2 separate regions of the Homo sapiens genome follow, and region 2 is linked to region 1. Evidence: promoter capture Hi-C in human tissues and cell types (Jung and others, 2019). All regions are on one chromosome and are shown on one strand. The core of a region is centred on a gene start or on the middle of the fragment in contact, and the rest is flanking DNA. Distances in the headings are between cores, read along the strand shown. Region 1 holds the start of NLRX1 (NLR family member X1). Region 2 holds the start of SLC37A4 (solute carrier family 37 member 4).

Region 1 (5,738 bases), core at 380-2,879:
TAGCAATTCCTCCCCACTGCTTTGCCAGCCAGTTGCTGCCCCGACCAGCATTTATTGGACCCGATCTCCTCACCAGCCTTTCTGCCTTCAGTCTCATCCCATTCTAATCCCTCACCCCAAGCACCAAGCACCTCCCGAAAAGTCCAAGGTTACTTATAGAGTCCAAACACTGGGCTCCCACAAGCTATTTTTCTGAGTTTGTCCCAGCCTGTGCCTTATACCCCAGGCTCACCGGATTCTTGCTCTTGCTGTCCTAAATTTGTTCATACACTCTTCCCAGTTTGGAATGACCTTTTTCCTCTGTTAGAGTCCCAACCAATTTTTTTTTTTTTTTTTTTTTTTTTTTTTTTTTTCCTGAGACAGGGTCTCTCGCTCTGTTGCCCAGGCTGGAGTGCAGTAGTACGATCTCAGCTCACAGCAACCTCTACCTCCTGGGCTCAAGCCATCCTCCTGCTTCAGCCTCCTGAGTAGCTAGGACTAAAGTGGTGTGCCACCACACCTGGCTAATTTTTGGCTTTGGTTTTTGTAGAGACGGGGTTTTCACCATTGTTGCCCAGGGTGGTCTCGAACTCCTGGGCTCAAGTGATCCGCCCGCCTTGCCCTCCCAAAGTGCGGGGACTGCAGGCGCGAGCCACCACTCGGGCCCCAACCAATCTTTTAAGATCCTGCTCAAAAGTCTCCGTCCCTGGGAAGTCTTTTCTGAGGCCTCTGAACTCACTTAAATGGAATGTGCCCCTATTTGGCACCTGGTCTCCTCCACTGAGATCGGGGCTTCTTGGGCAGGGTACGCTTAAGGAGAACTGGCTGCATTGGGCCACCTGCCTTAGCAGGGCCAACCAGCGGAGGAGCTGGCTGGGTGCTGGCCCGTCCCAGGGGCTGCGGAAGGGTTAAGAGAGGGCTCCAGAAGCCTGAGAAAGCCTAGGTTCCGGTTTAACCTCGGATCTAGGGCCACTGAGTCAAGACGGGACTTGCGGGGCCGAGGGCAGTTCTCCGGTGATCACCCAGGTCTCCAGGGCAATGAGAAAAGGAGGGGGCACTGCAGGAAACGTACAGGGGCGGTGTTCCTACAGGTCCAGAGCTCCTCCACCAAACTGGGTCCCAAACAGCTCTCCTACTTTCGGGTGGCCTCGGGAACGCAGGGGGAGACTTGCCAGAACGCCCGCCATTCAGCGCCCAGCTCCGTCCCTCTCGTTCTCGGCCGGGATCTCCCCGCGGCCCTTGCACAGCCTCCTCCCCCGGCCCGCCCTGCCCCCCGCTCAGCGCGGCCTCCCAGCCAGGGCGCAGGGGTTATCAAGCCCGCTAGGCCTTTACCCGCGGCTGCCCAGTTCCGGGAGCCGTCGGCCGCGGCCCAGAGGGGTCGGCTGGGCGGACGCCGGCGTCTCCCGCTAGCTCCCAGAGTCCCCGGCTCCTCGGCGTGGCGCTTCCTGCCCACCTCCGCCCGCCTGCGCGGCCCTGGCACCTGGCAGCGGGCGCGAAAGAGGACGAGCCCAGGCACTCGGGCCTGCGGGGTCCTGGGACGAGGGGGTCAGCGAGAGGGGCCCGGTGCTCCGGAGCAGGCGCAGGGCTGGAACCCCGGCGCCACCCGTCCCGCCATCGTCCCCCCTCCCTGCCTCCATCCCCGCGGGCACTGCCGCTAGTACTGCCCTCTGCAGGTTCCCAAGCGCCAGTGACACCCAGTGACCTCACTAACCACCTCCCAGGCTGGGCTGCTTGTTAGGCCCATTTTACAGATGAAGAAACTGATGCTCAGAAGGGTGAAATGACTTGTGCAGGTTGATTCAGTTAGGAAGTGGATGAGCCAGAACAACATCCCGGGCCTGAGTCTTCCTACCTTACCCCTGGGCCTCCCTGAGGCGCGGTGTCCAGGGGATTCTTCCCTCTGTCCCTCTCCGCCTCCCCAGCCTACCTTCAGGCAGAGACCTGAGCCTAAGGCTTCCTTGGGTTCTGCCTTATGTATCCGGTCCTCTTCAGAGCCCAGACCTATGTGTGTGGCTGCTGGTAACCTTGGTTAAGAAAGAAGGAAGAATGGGGGCTGAAGGACAACTTGCACCCCAACCTGCTCTTCGGGTCTGACACCCATTCATGGCCTAGCCCTGGGGCTTCCCAGTTCCCAAAGCCCCCACCCTTATCCCTACACTTCCACACACTTCCACACCCTGGGCTCACGTAGCCCAGAAGGAGGAGCCACCCACCACCCACAGCCAGGGCACGCCTTCGTATGCAAGCATGAGTGTACGATGTTCACACAACAGAGCTGTGCACTAGGGCACCCACAGAGAGGCTCTCCAGGGCAGGGCTGGGAAGAGGACTTACTGAAAACAATGTGGATGTTTCATTTAGACATTTGTTCATTCGTTGTACTGTGGTATTGGGTAGCACTGAGCACCTCACCCCCACAAGCCAGGTCCAGCACTAGGCCCTGGGCTGCCAACCACAGCAAGGCAGGCACCTCACTTTAATGGAATCAACTACCACATTTACAAATGATGTACTTCAAGGCCGAGGCAGGAGGATCACTTGAGACCAGGAGTTTGAGACCAGCCTGGGTGACATAGTGAGACCCTGTCTCTATTTAAAATGAAAATAGAAAATAAAAATATAAAAAACAGACAAACAAATGATGTACTTCAGTGGCAGAGGCAAGGCATTAGGAGAGTCTGGAAAAGGGAGTGCAGAGGAGGTAACATTTGTACTGGATCTGAAAAAATAAATCAGAGGACCAGCCGCGGTGGCTCACACCTGTAATCTCAGCACTTTGGAAGGCTGGGGGTGAGGGCAGATCTCCTGAGGCCAGGAGTTTGGGACCAGCTCAAACTCGTCACCATGGCCAACATGGTGAAACCCCCGTCTCTACTAAAAATAACAAAAATTGGCCAGGCATGGTGGCTCATGCCTGTAATCCTAGCACTTTGGGAGGCCAAGGCAGGCGGATTGCCTGAGCTCAGAAGTTCACGACCAACCTAGGCAACGTGGTGAAACCTCATCTCTACTAAAAATACAAAAATTAGCCGGGCTGGGTGGTGCATGCCTGCAGTCCCAGCTACACAGGAGGCTTAGGCAGGAGAATCGCTTGAATCCAGGAGGCGGAGGTTGCCGTGAGCCAAGATCACGCCACTGCATTCCAGCCTGGGAGACAGAGCAAGACTCTGTATCAAAAAAAAAAAAAAAATCAACCAGACGTGGTGGCATGGGCCTGTAGTACCAGCTACTCAGAAGGCTGAGGCACAAGAATTGCTTGAACTTGGGAGGTAGAGGTTGCAGTGAGCCGAGATCATGCCACTGCACTCTAGCCTGGGAGATAAAGCAAAACCGTGTCTCAAAAATAAAAACAAAAGCACAAAAAATTAGCTGGGCATGGTGGCACATGCCCATAATCACAGCTACTCAGGAGACTGAAGCAGGAGAATTGCTTGAACCTGGGAGGCGGAGGTTGCAGTGAGCCAAGATTGCACCACTGCACTCCAACCTGGGCAACAGAGAGAGACCCTGTCTCAATAAATAAATAAATCAGAGAAAGGAAAGGCAGGGCATCCCAGCAGCAGGGTGAACAACACATTTGCATTTTAAAAGAGGTTCTTCAAGGGGAGTAGAATAGGATGTGGGAGGGGAAGTATAGGAACCCCATGAATGTAGTCTCATGGGTGACAGTTTGGGCCTGGTAATCTCCTCTAGCTTCATTCCACTTACCTAGCCATGCAAGACAGTCACCTGGCAGCAGTTCCTGGACACAGCTCAGAGCAATCTGTTTTCCTCCCCTGTCACCTTCCCCATGGGTACGACAACCATGTAGGTTTTATTAATAACATATACTTTGACTGGCCTCTTGCAGACAGAAGTACTGTGAGTCATGCCGTGGGCATGTCCTCTGTTGTCTGACCTAGGATGCGGTGCAGTGGCTCACCCTATAATCCCAGCACTTTGGGAGGCCGAGGTGGGTGGATCACCTGAGGTCAGTAGTTCGAGACCAGCCTGACCAACGTGGTGAAACCCCGTCTCTACTAGAAATACAAAAAAATTAGCCAGGCTTGGTGGCAGGCACCTGTAGTCCCAGCTACTCAGGAGGCTGAGGCAGGAGAATCGCTTGAACCCAGGAGGCAGAGGTTGCAGTGAGCCGCGATCATGCCACTACACACTCCAGCCTTGGCTACAGAGTGAGACTCTGTCTAAAAAAAAAAAAAAAAGTTATAGCATGAGGCCGGGGTGTGGTTGCTCACACCTGTAATCCCAGCACTTTGGGAGGCTAAGGCAGAAGGATCACTCGAGCCCAGGAGTTTGAGACCAGCTTGGGCAACATAATAGAACCCTGACTCCACAAAAATAATTTTTAAAAAATTAGCTAGGCATGGTGGCACGCACCTGCGGTCCCAGCTACTCTAGAGTCTGAGATGGGAGGATCGCTTGAGCCCAGGAAGTTGAGGCTGCAGTAAGCCATGGTTGCACCCTGTACTCTAGCATGGGTGACAGAGCGAGACCCTGTCTCAAAAAAAAAGAATTATTGCATGGACAACTGTCTTAGTCAACTCTGGTCTTCAGCACTTTGCATAGGTCTGGACACAGAGAAGGTGACTGTGTTAAAGAAGATGATATCAGATGGGCGTGGTGGCTCACGCCTGTAATCCCAGCACTTTGGGAGGCCAGTGTGGGTGGATTGCCTGAGCTCAGGAGTTCGAGATCATCAGGGCTACATGGTGAAACCCCGCCTCTACTAAAAATACAAAAAAAATTAACCAGGTGTGGTGGCGCACGCCTCTAGTCCCAGCTACTTGGGAGGCTGAGGCAGGAGAATTGCTTGAGCCCCAGAGGCGAAGGTTGCAGTGAGCCGAGATCACGCCACTGCACTCCAGCTTGGGCTACAGAGTGAGACTCCGTCTCAAAAAAGAAAAAAAAAAAGATGATCTGTAAGCCCAGGTACTTAGGTACTTTGGCACTTAGGGAGAGAGGGCCCACTTCAAAACATACTTAGATGGGCAGGGAGCATTTATGCTCCAACTCAGCAGGTTACTGGGACTGGTGGGAGGAACATGGGGTAGGGCACAGTGGCAAGAGTACAGTATCTCGCCGGGAGTGGTGGCTCATGTCTGTAATCCCAGCACTTTGGGAGGCCGAGACGGGTGGATCACGAGGTCCGGAGATTGAGACCATCCTGGCTAACACGGTGAAACCCCGTCTCTACTAAAAATACAAAAAAATTAGCCAGGCGTAGTGGCAGGCACCTCTAGTCCCAGCTACTTGGGAGGCTGAGGCAGGAGAATGTCGTGAACCCAGGAGGCAGAGCTTGCTTGCAGCGAGCCGAGATGGTACCACTGCACTCCAGCCTGGGCGACAGAGAGAGACTCCATCTCAAAAAAAAAAAAAAAGTATTTACTGGATTTTTTTTTTAACAGGGTGTCACTCTATCACCCAGGCTGGGGTGCAGTGGCACAATCATAGCTCACTGTAATCTCAAACTCCTGGGCTCAAGTGATCCTCTCACCTCAGCCTCCCAAGTAACTAGGACTACAAGCATTGCCACCATGCCCAGCTAATTGTTTGTTTGTTTGTTTGTTTGTTTGTTTTTATAGAGAGCTGTAGTGATGGGGCCTCACTGTGTTGCCCAGGCTGGCCTCCCAAAGTCCTGGAATTACAGATGTGAGCTACCATGCCATGCCCTAGTATTTACGTTTTAAAAAGAGAAAGAGGGCCGGGCATGGTGGCTCATGCCTGTAATACTAACACTTTCGGAAGCTGAGCTGAGAGGA
Region 2 (5,542 bases), core at 3,043-5,542, 140 kb after region 1:
GCCTAGGCTGGAGTGCAGTGCTACAATCATAGCTCACTGAGGCCTTGAACTCCTAGGCTCAAGGTCTCTTCCCGTCTAAGCCCCTGAGTAGATAGGACTAGAGGCACATGCCACCACACCTGGCTAATTTCTAAATTTTTTGTAGCAATGGGGTCTCACTACGTTGCCCAGGCTGGTCTCAAACTCCTGACCTCAAGCCATCCTTCCAAAGTGTTGGGATTGTAAGCATGAGCCACTGGGCCCAACCTCGGATGATATTTAAAATAATGTTGTCCATTCATTTCTATGGCTTCTGAAAAAAAAATAAAAACTTTGTCCAGTTTCCAACAAATTCTGTTGGGATATAGATTGGGATGGTTTTAAAATGCCAAATGAATTTTGAATGGATTGACATTTGGACAGTATCAAAGTCATAGCTTGTTTTTCAGGCATGTAGTATGATTTACGTTTGTTCAAATTACCTTTTATTATCCCTTAGTAAAGTCTTTGTACTGTATTGGGATGTCATCTTCTCATTTCTTTTTCTTTTCTTTCTTTCTTTCTTTTTTTTTTTTTTTGAGACGGAGTCTCACTCTGTCACCTAGGCTGGAGTGCAATGGCGCCATCTCAGCTCACTGCAACTTCTGCCTCCCAGGTTCAAGTGATTCTCCTGCCTCAGCCTCCTGATTAGCTGGGATTACAGGTGTACACCACCACACCCGGCTAATTTTTGTATTTTTAGTAGAGACAGGGTTTCACCATGTTGGTCAGGCTGGTCTCGAACTCCTGACCTCATGATCCGCGCGCCTCAGCCTCGCAAAGTGCTGGGATTACGGGAGTAAGCCACCATGCCCGGCCTATCTTCTCATTTCTTAACATTCTTTGGAAATACAGTGAGCAAACTAGCATTTGAGTCCCTACTATCCTGATCATAAAGTGCTTTAAAATGTTTTTCCATTTAATTCCCACTGACTGGGTGCGATGGATCATGCTTGTAATCGCCGCACTTTGGGAGCCTGAGGCAGGTGGATAACCTAAACTCAGGAGTTTGAGACTAGCCTGGCCAACATGGCGAAACCCCCTCTGTACGCCGGGTGCGGTGGCTCACGCTTGTAATCTAGCACTTTGGGAGGCCGAGGCGGGTGGATCACGAGGTCAGGATCGAGACCATCCTGGCTAACACAGTGAAACCCCGTCTCTACTAAAAATACAAAAAATTAGCTGACCGTGGTGGCGGGTGTCTGTAGTCCCAGCTACTCGGGAGGCTGAGGCAGGAGAATGGCATGAACCTGGGAGGCGGAGCTTGCAGTGAGCCCAGATGGTGCCACTGCACTCCAGCCTGGGCGAGAGAGCGAGACTCTGTCTCAAAAAAAAAAAAAAAAAAAAGAAAGAAAAAGAAAAAAAGAAAGAAAGAAACCCTGTCTGTACTAAAAATACAAAAATTAGCCAGGCGTGTTTGCGGGCACCTATAATACCAACTACTCAGGAAGCTGAGGCAGAAGAATCGCTTGAACCCAGGTGGCCTGGTCCTGTAGTCTTAGCTACTTGGGAGGATCGCTCAATGCTCAGGAATTTGAGGTTAGAGTGAGCTAAGATACCATTGCACTCCAGCCTGGGCAACAGAGCAAGCCTGTCTCAAAAACAAACAAACAAACAAACAAACAAACAAAAAAAACAGACCGGGCGCAGTGGCTCACGCCTGTAATCCTAGCACTTTGGGAGACCGAGGTGGGCGGATTACCTGAGGTCAGGAGTTCGAGACCAGCCTGGCCAATAGGGTGAAACCCTGTCTCTACTAAAAATACAAAAATTAGCTGGGCGTGGTGGCACATGCTTGTAATCCCAGCTACTCAGGAGGCTCAGGCAGGAGAATGGCTTGAGCCCAGGAGGCAGAGGTTGCAGTGAGCCGAGATCCTGCCACTGCACTTCAGCCTGGCCGACAGAGCAAGACTCTGTCTCAAAAACAAACAAACAAACAAATAAACACCATCGACCAGGCACAGTGGCTCATGCCTGTAATTCCAGGATATTGGAAGACCAAGGCAGGTGGATCCCTTGAGCTCAGGATTTCGAGGCCAGCCTGGCCAATATGGTGAAACTCTTGTCTCTACAAAAAATAGAAAAATTAACCGGGTTGGCTGGGTGCAGTTGTTCATGCCTGTAATCCCAGCACTTTGGGAGGCCAAGGGGGGCAGATCACCTGAAGTCAGGAGTTTGAGACCAGCCTGACCAACATGGAGAAACCCTACCCCTACTAAAATTACAAAATTAGCTGGGCATGGTGGGGCATGCCTGTAATCCCAGCTACTCGGGAGGCTGAGGCAGGAGAATCGCTTGAACCCCAGAGAAGGAGGTTGCAGTGAGCTGAGATCACTCCACTTCCAAAACAAAACGATAGGGCTGTTAATTTAGGTGGTGGTTACACGGGTATTAACATGTGTAAAAAATCACTGAGTTGTACATGTAAGATTCCTGCACTTTTTGTATTTTATTATGTGTATGTTAAATCTTAAAAATAAAAGCGGAGAAAAACCTGATGGCTTCCTACTCCTCTATTAGGTAAAGTAAGAATCTGCTCTGGTTTGGTTTCGGAGGAACTGTTTCCTGGTCCTTGGATCTACCTGGCTGAAAGCACAGTGCCTGGTACAAACTAGGCTCCTCCCCGATTTTGAATTAACGAAGTTCAGTGACATCGTCATCCTATTTTTTTTTTTTTTTTTTTGAGACAGGCTCTCGCTCTGTCACCCAGGCTGGAGTGCAGTGGCACGATCTCGGCTCACTGCAACCTCTGCTTCCCAGGTCCAAGAAATTCTCCTGCCTCAGCCTCCCCAGTAACTGGGATTACAGGCGTGTGCCACCAAGCCTGGCTAATTTTGGTATTTTTAGTAGAGACAGGGTTTCACCATGTTGGCCAGGCTGGTCTCGAACTCCTGACTTCAAGTGATCTGCCCGCCTTGGCCTCCCAATGTGCTGGGATTACAAGCATGAGCCATCGCGTCCGGCCTGTCATCCTATTTTATCTCATCTCCTCCTCCTCCCTTCCCTGACCATCTTCTCTGGAGTAAAAGATCTTTGCTCTCAATTTTGGAACACTTACAATTCCTTCAGCCACTCTTGTTAGGAAGATATAAGGGAAGAGAGCGAGAGACAGGAGGCAACTCAACGGCCAAACAGGTTTATTCACAGGAATAAGCCTGCAAGGAGTTCCAGTCAGGAGTCTGGCTGAGACCCTGATCGCTTACAAGCTGAGGCTTTTATAATATCGTTTCTATTGGGGAGAGGTCGGGAAGTGCTGGCTGATTGGGACTGTTGGGGACTTTGTTAGGCTATGTTACCTTCTGTTGAAGCTATGGGCAGGGTTAACATTTGCTCTGTTTCTGAGAACACAGTCATCATTGTTGTAAAATAGCATCACTACTGTTACTCCTCACAACTCTTAACTGGGATCAGTGAAAACCATTGTTGTTGAGAACTCTTATAGAATTTCTGAGCTCTTATCTAAATCATCTGTTGAGTCTTCACAATGATCTACCAGGCTGGTAGGAAACGGGAGCTCATAGAGATTAACCAAGGTCATACAGTTAGAATGCTGTGGGTCTAGGACTAGAATTTGATATTTACTCCAGGCCCCGTCTCTGTCCCCAACAATCTAACCACAAGTTAAAATTCCAAATTGTGGGCTGGGCGCGGTGGCTCACGCCTGTAATCCCAGCACTTTGGGAGGCCGAGGTGAGCGGATCACGAGGTCAGGAGATCGAGACCATCCTGGCAAACACGGTGAAACCCCGTCTCTACTAAAAATACAAAAAATTACCCGGGCGTGGTGGTGGGCGCCCGTAGTCCCAGCTACTCGGGAGGCTGAGGCAGGAGAATGGTGTGAACCCGGGAGGAGGAGCTTGCAGTGAGCCGAAATCGCGCCACTGCACTCCAGCCTGGGCGACTGAGCGAGACTGTTTCAAAAAAAAAAAAAAAGAAAAAAAGAAAATACTGTGTGTTCCTACAACACCTTTCCCAGACTGTGAGCAACTTGGGAACAATGATTATCACCTTAGTGTTCGGTGTGTTTTGTAGAGGAGGGCACTCACTAAAAACTGGTTTGTTGAATGCAACCACTTAAGAATTGGACATGCCGTGCCCAGCCCCTAAGGGGCGCTATGCTCGTTCGTCCAAGGAGCAGCGTGACCAGCGGGAGGGAGTAAGTCGACGTCCCCGGCATGTGGGGCGGGGAACTCCACTGGCCGGCAAGCGAAGCAGCAGGCGAAGACCACGCCCCCGCCGGCCGCGCTTGCGCAGCCTTCGCTAGCCCCGCCCCGTCCTATTCGGGCTCCCGCCTCTGTTCAGGTAGGAGGCGGTATGCGGGGGAGGGGAGTCACCTGAGGGCGGGGATCTCAGGTCTTGGGGAGCCATTGTTGGCGAACCCCAACTTCCGATACGACCCGGAGCTGTTCCTGCAGTTCCAGAGACAATTCATGGGTCTTGGGGCCACCGAGGCGCTGTCCCTGACCACCAGCACGAGACCCCTTTCTATCGCGCCAGTCCTGTGGTCTCCGCACCTCTCCAGCTCCTGCACCCCCGGCCCCCGTGGTTCCCAGCCGCACAGTAGCGTGTCCTGGGTAGCGTGAGGACCCACGGGGCTGGGCAGGTGCCACGAGCCCGCCGCCTCTTCGCCGCCCGCCGCCTCTCCTCCTCTCCCGCCCGCCGCCTGGCCCTCCCCTACCAGGCTGAGCCTCTGGGTGCCAGAAGCGCGGGGCCTCCGGGAGAATACGTGCGGTCGCCCGCTCCGCGTGCGCCTACGCCTTCTGCTCCAGTTGCTTTCCCAATTGAGCGGAAAAGCCGGGGCATGTTGCCGGGGCCCTGGGCGGGACGGTTGTGCCCTGCAGCCCGAAGCCCGCCGGGGCACCTTCCCGCCCACGAGCTGCCCAGTCCCTCTGCTTGCGGCCCCTGCCAACGTCCCACAGGTTGGAAACCAGACCCTGCAGCCCCCAGCTAGCCCGAAGGAAGCCCAGACTGACGTCGCAGGGTAATGGGGACCCAGAGGTAGCTCTGTGGGGCCCCATCAGGACCTCAGCCCTTAGCGGGGCTTTCTGTGTGACACCGTGGGACCTGAACTGGGGAGGTCCCCCTTGCACAGAATTACAAGGGGCAACTGTAGGAAACAATTAAATCTATTATGTGCTAAGTATTGAGAGTTCCACGGATTGAGGCCCTCTCTAGAAGGCTTAGAAGTGGGGTAGCCGGGGTATGTGTCTGACTTTGTGTTTTGGTGCGGTGGTGGTGAGTGGGTGTAGAAACTAATAGTGCCAAGTGCAGTGCCTGTCAACTAGTAAGTTAATAAACCTTCCGTGAATGAATGAGAAGGTTCTGTGACTGAGGGAGCAGGGCTAGAGAGGGCATCTCTGCTCATCCCACCCCTGCCTCCCCTGGGCTCAGGCAGACAAAAGTAATTAGGTTGAACCTTTAATCAAAGCTGGTTTCACAGGCAAGCAGACATGATAGAGGAGGTAAAGGCAGAAATCCTGGGGACACAGGGTGCTGGCCTGGCTCACAGGCATGCCTCCTTCCG

What was found. The method cuts DNA at HindIII sites, captures the fragments that hold promoters and counts their contacts. A contact is called where the count stands out against the background at its distance.
Region 2: a contact is called between the fragment with the promoter of SLC37A4 here and the fragment with the promoter of NLRX1 in region 1, in 1 of the 25 tissues and cell types used here (psoas muscle).

The regions. Positions count from the first base shown.
Region 1 is chr11:119,164,616-119,170,353 of GRCh38, reverse strand. NLRX1 (NLR family member X1) reads right to left here and starts at 1,629. Exons shown (of 10, transcript NM_001282144.2): 1 at 1,052-1,629. RefSeq lists enhancers at 129-833, 834-1,539 and a silencer at 1,111-1,720. The HindIII fragment of the contact is 23,273 bases long and covers 1-5,738 here.
Region 2 is chr11:119,029,627-119,035,168 of GRCh38, reverse strand. It overlaps SLC37A4 (solute carrier family 37 member 4), which reads left to right and starts at 4,292. Exons shown (of 10, transcript NM_001467.6): 1 at 4,292-4,320. RefSeq lists a silencer at 4,678-4,837. The HindIII fragment of the contact is 21,386 bases long and covers 1-5,542 here.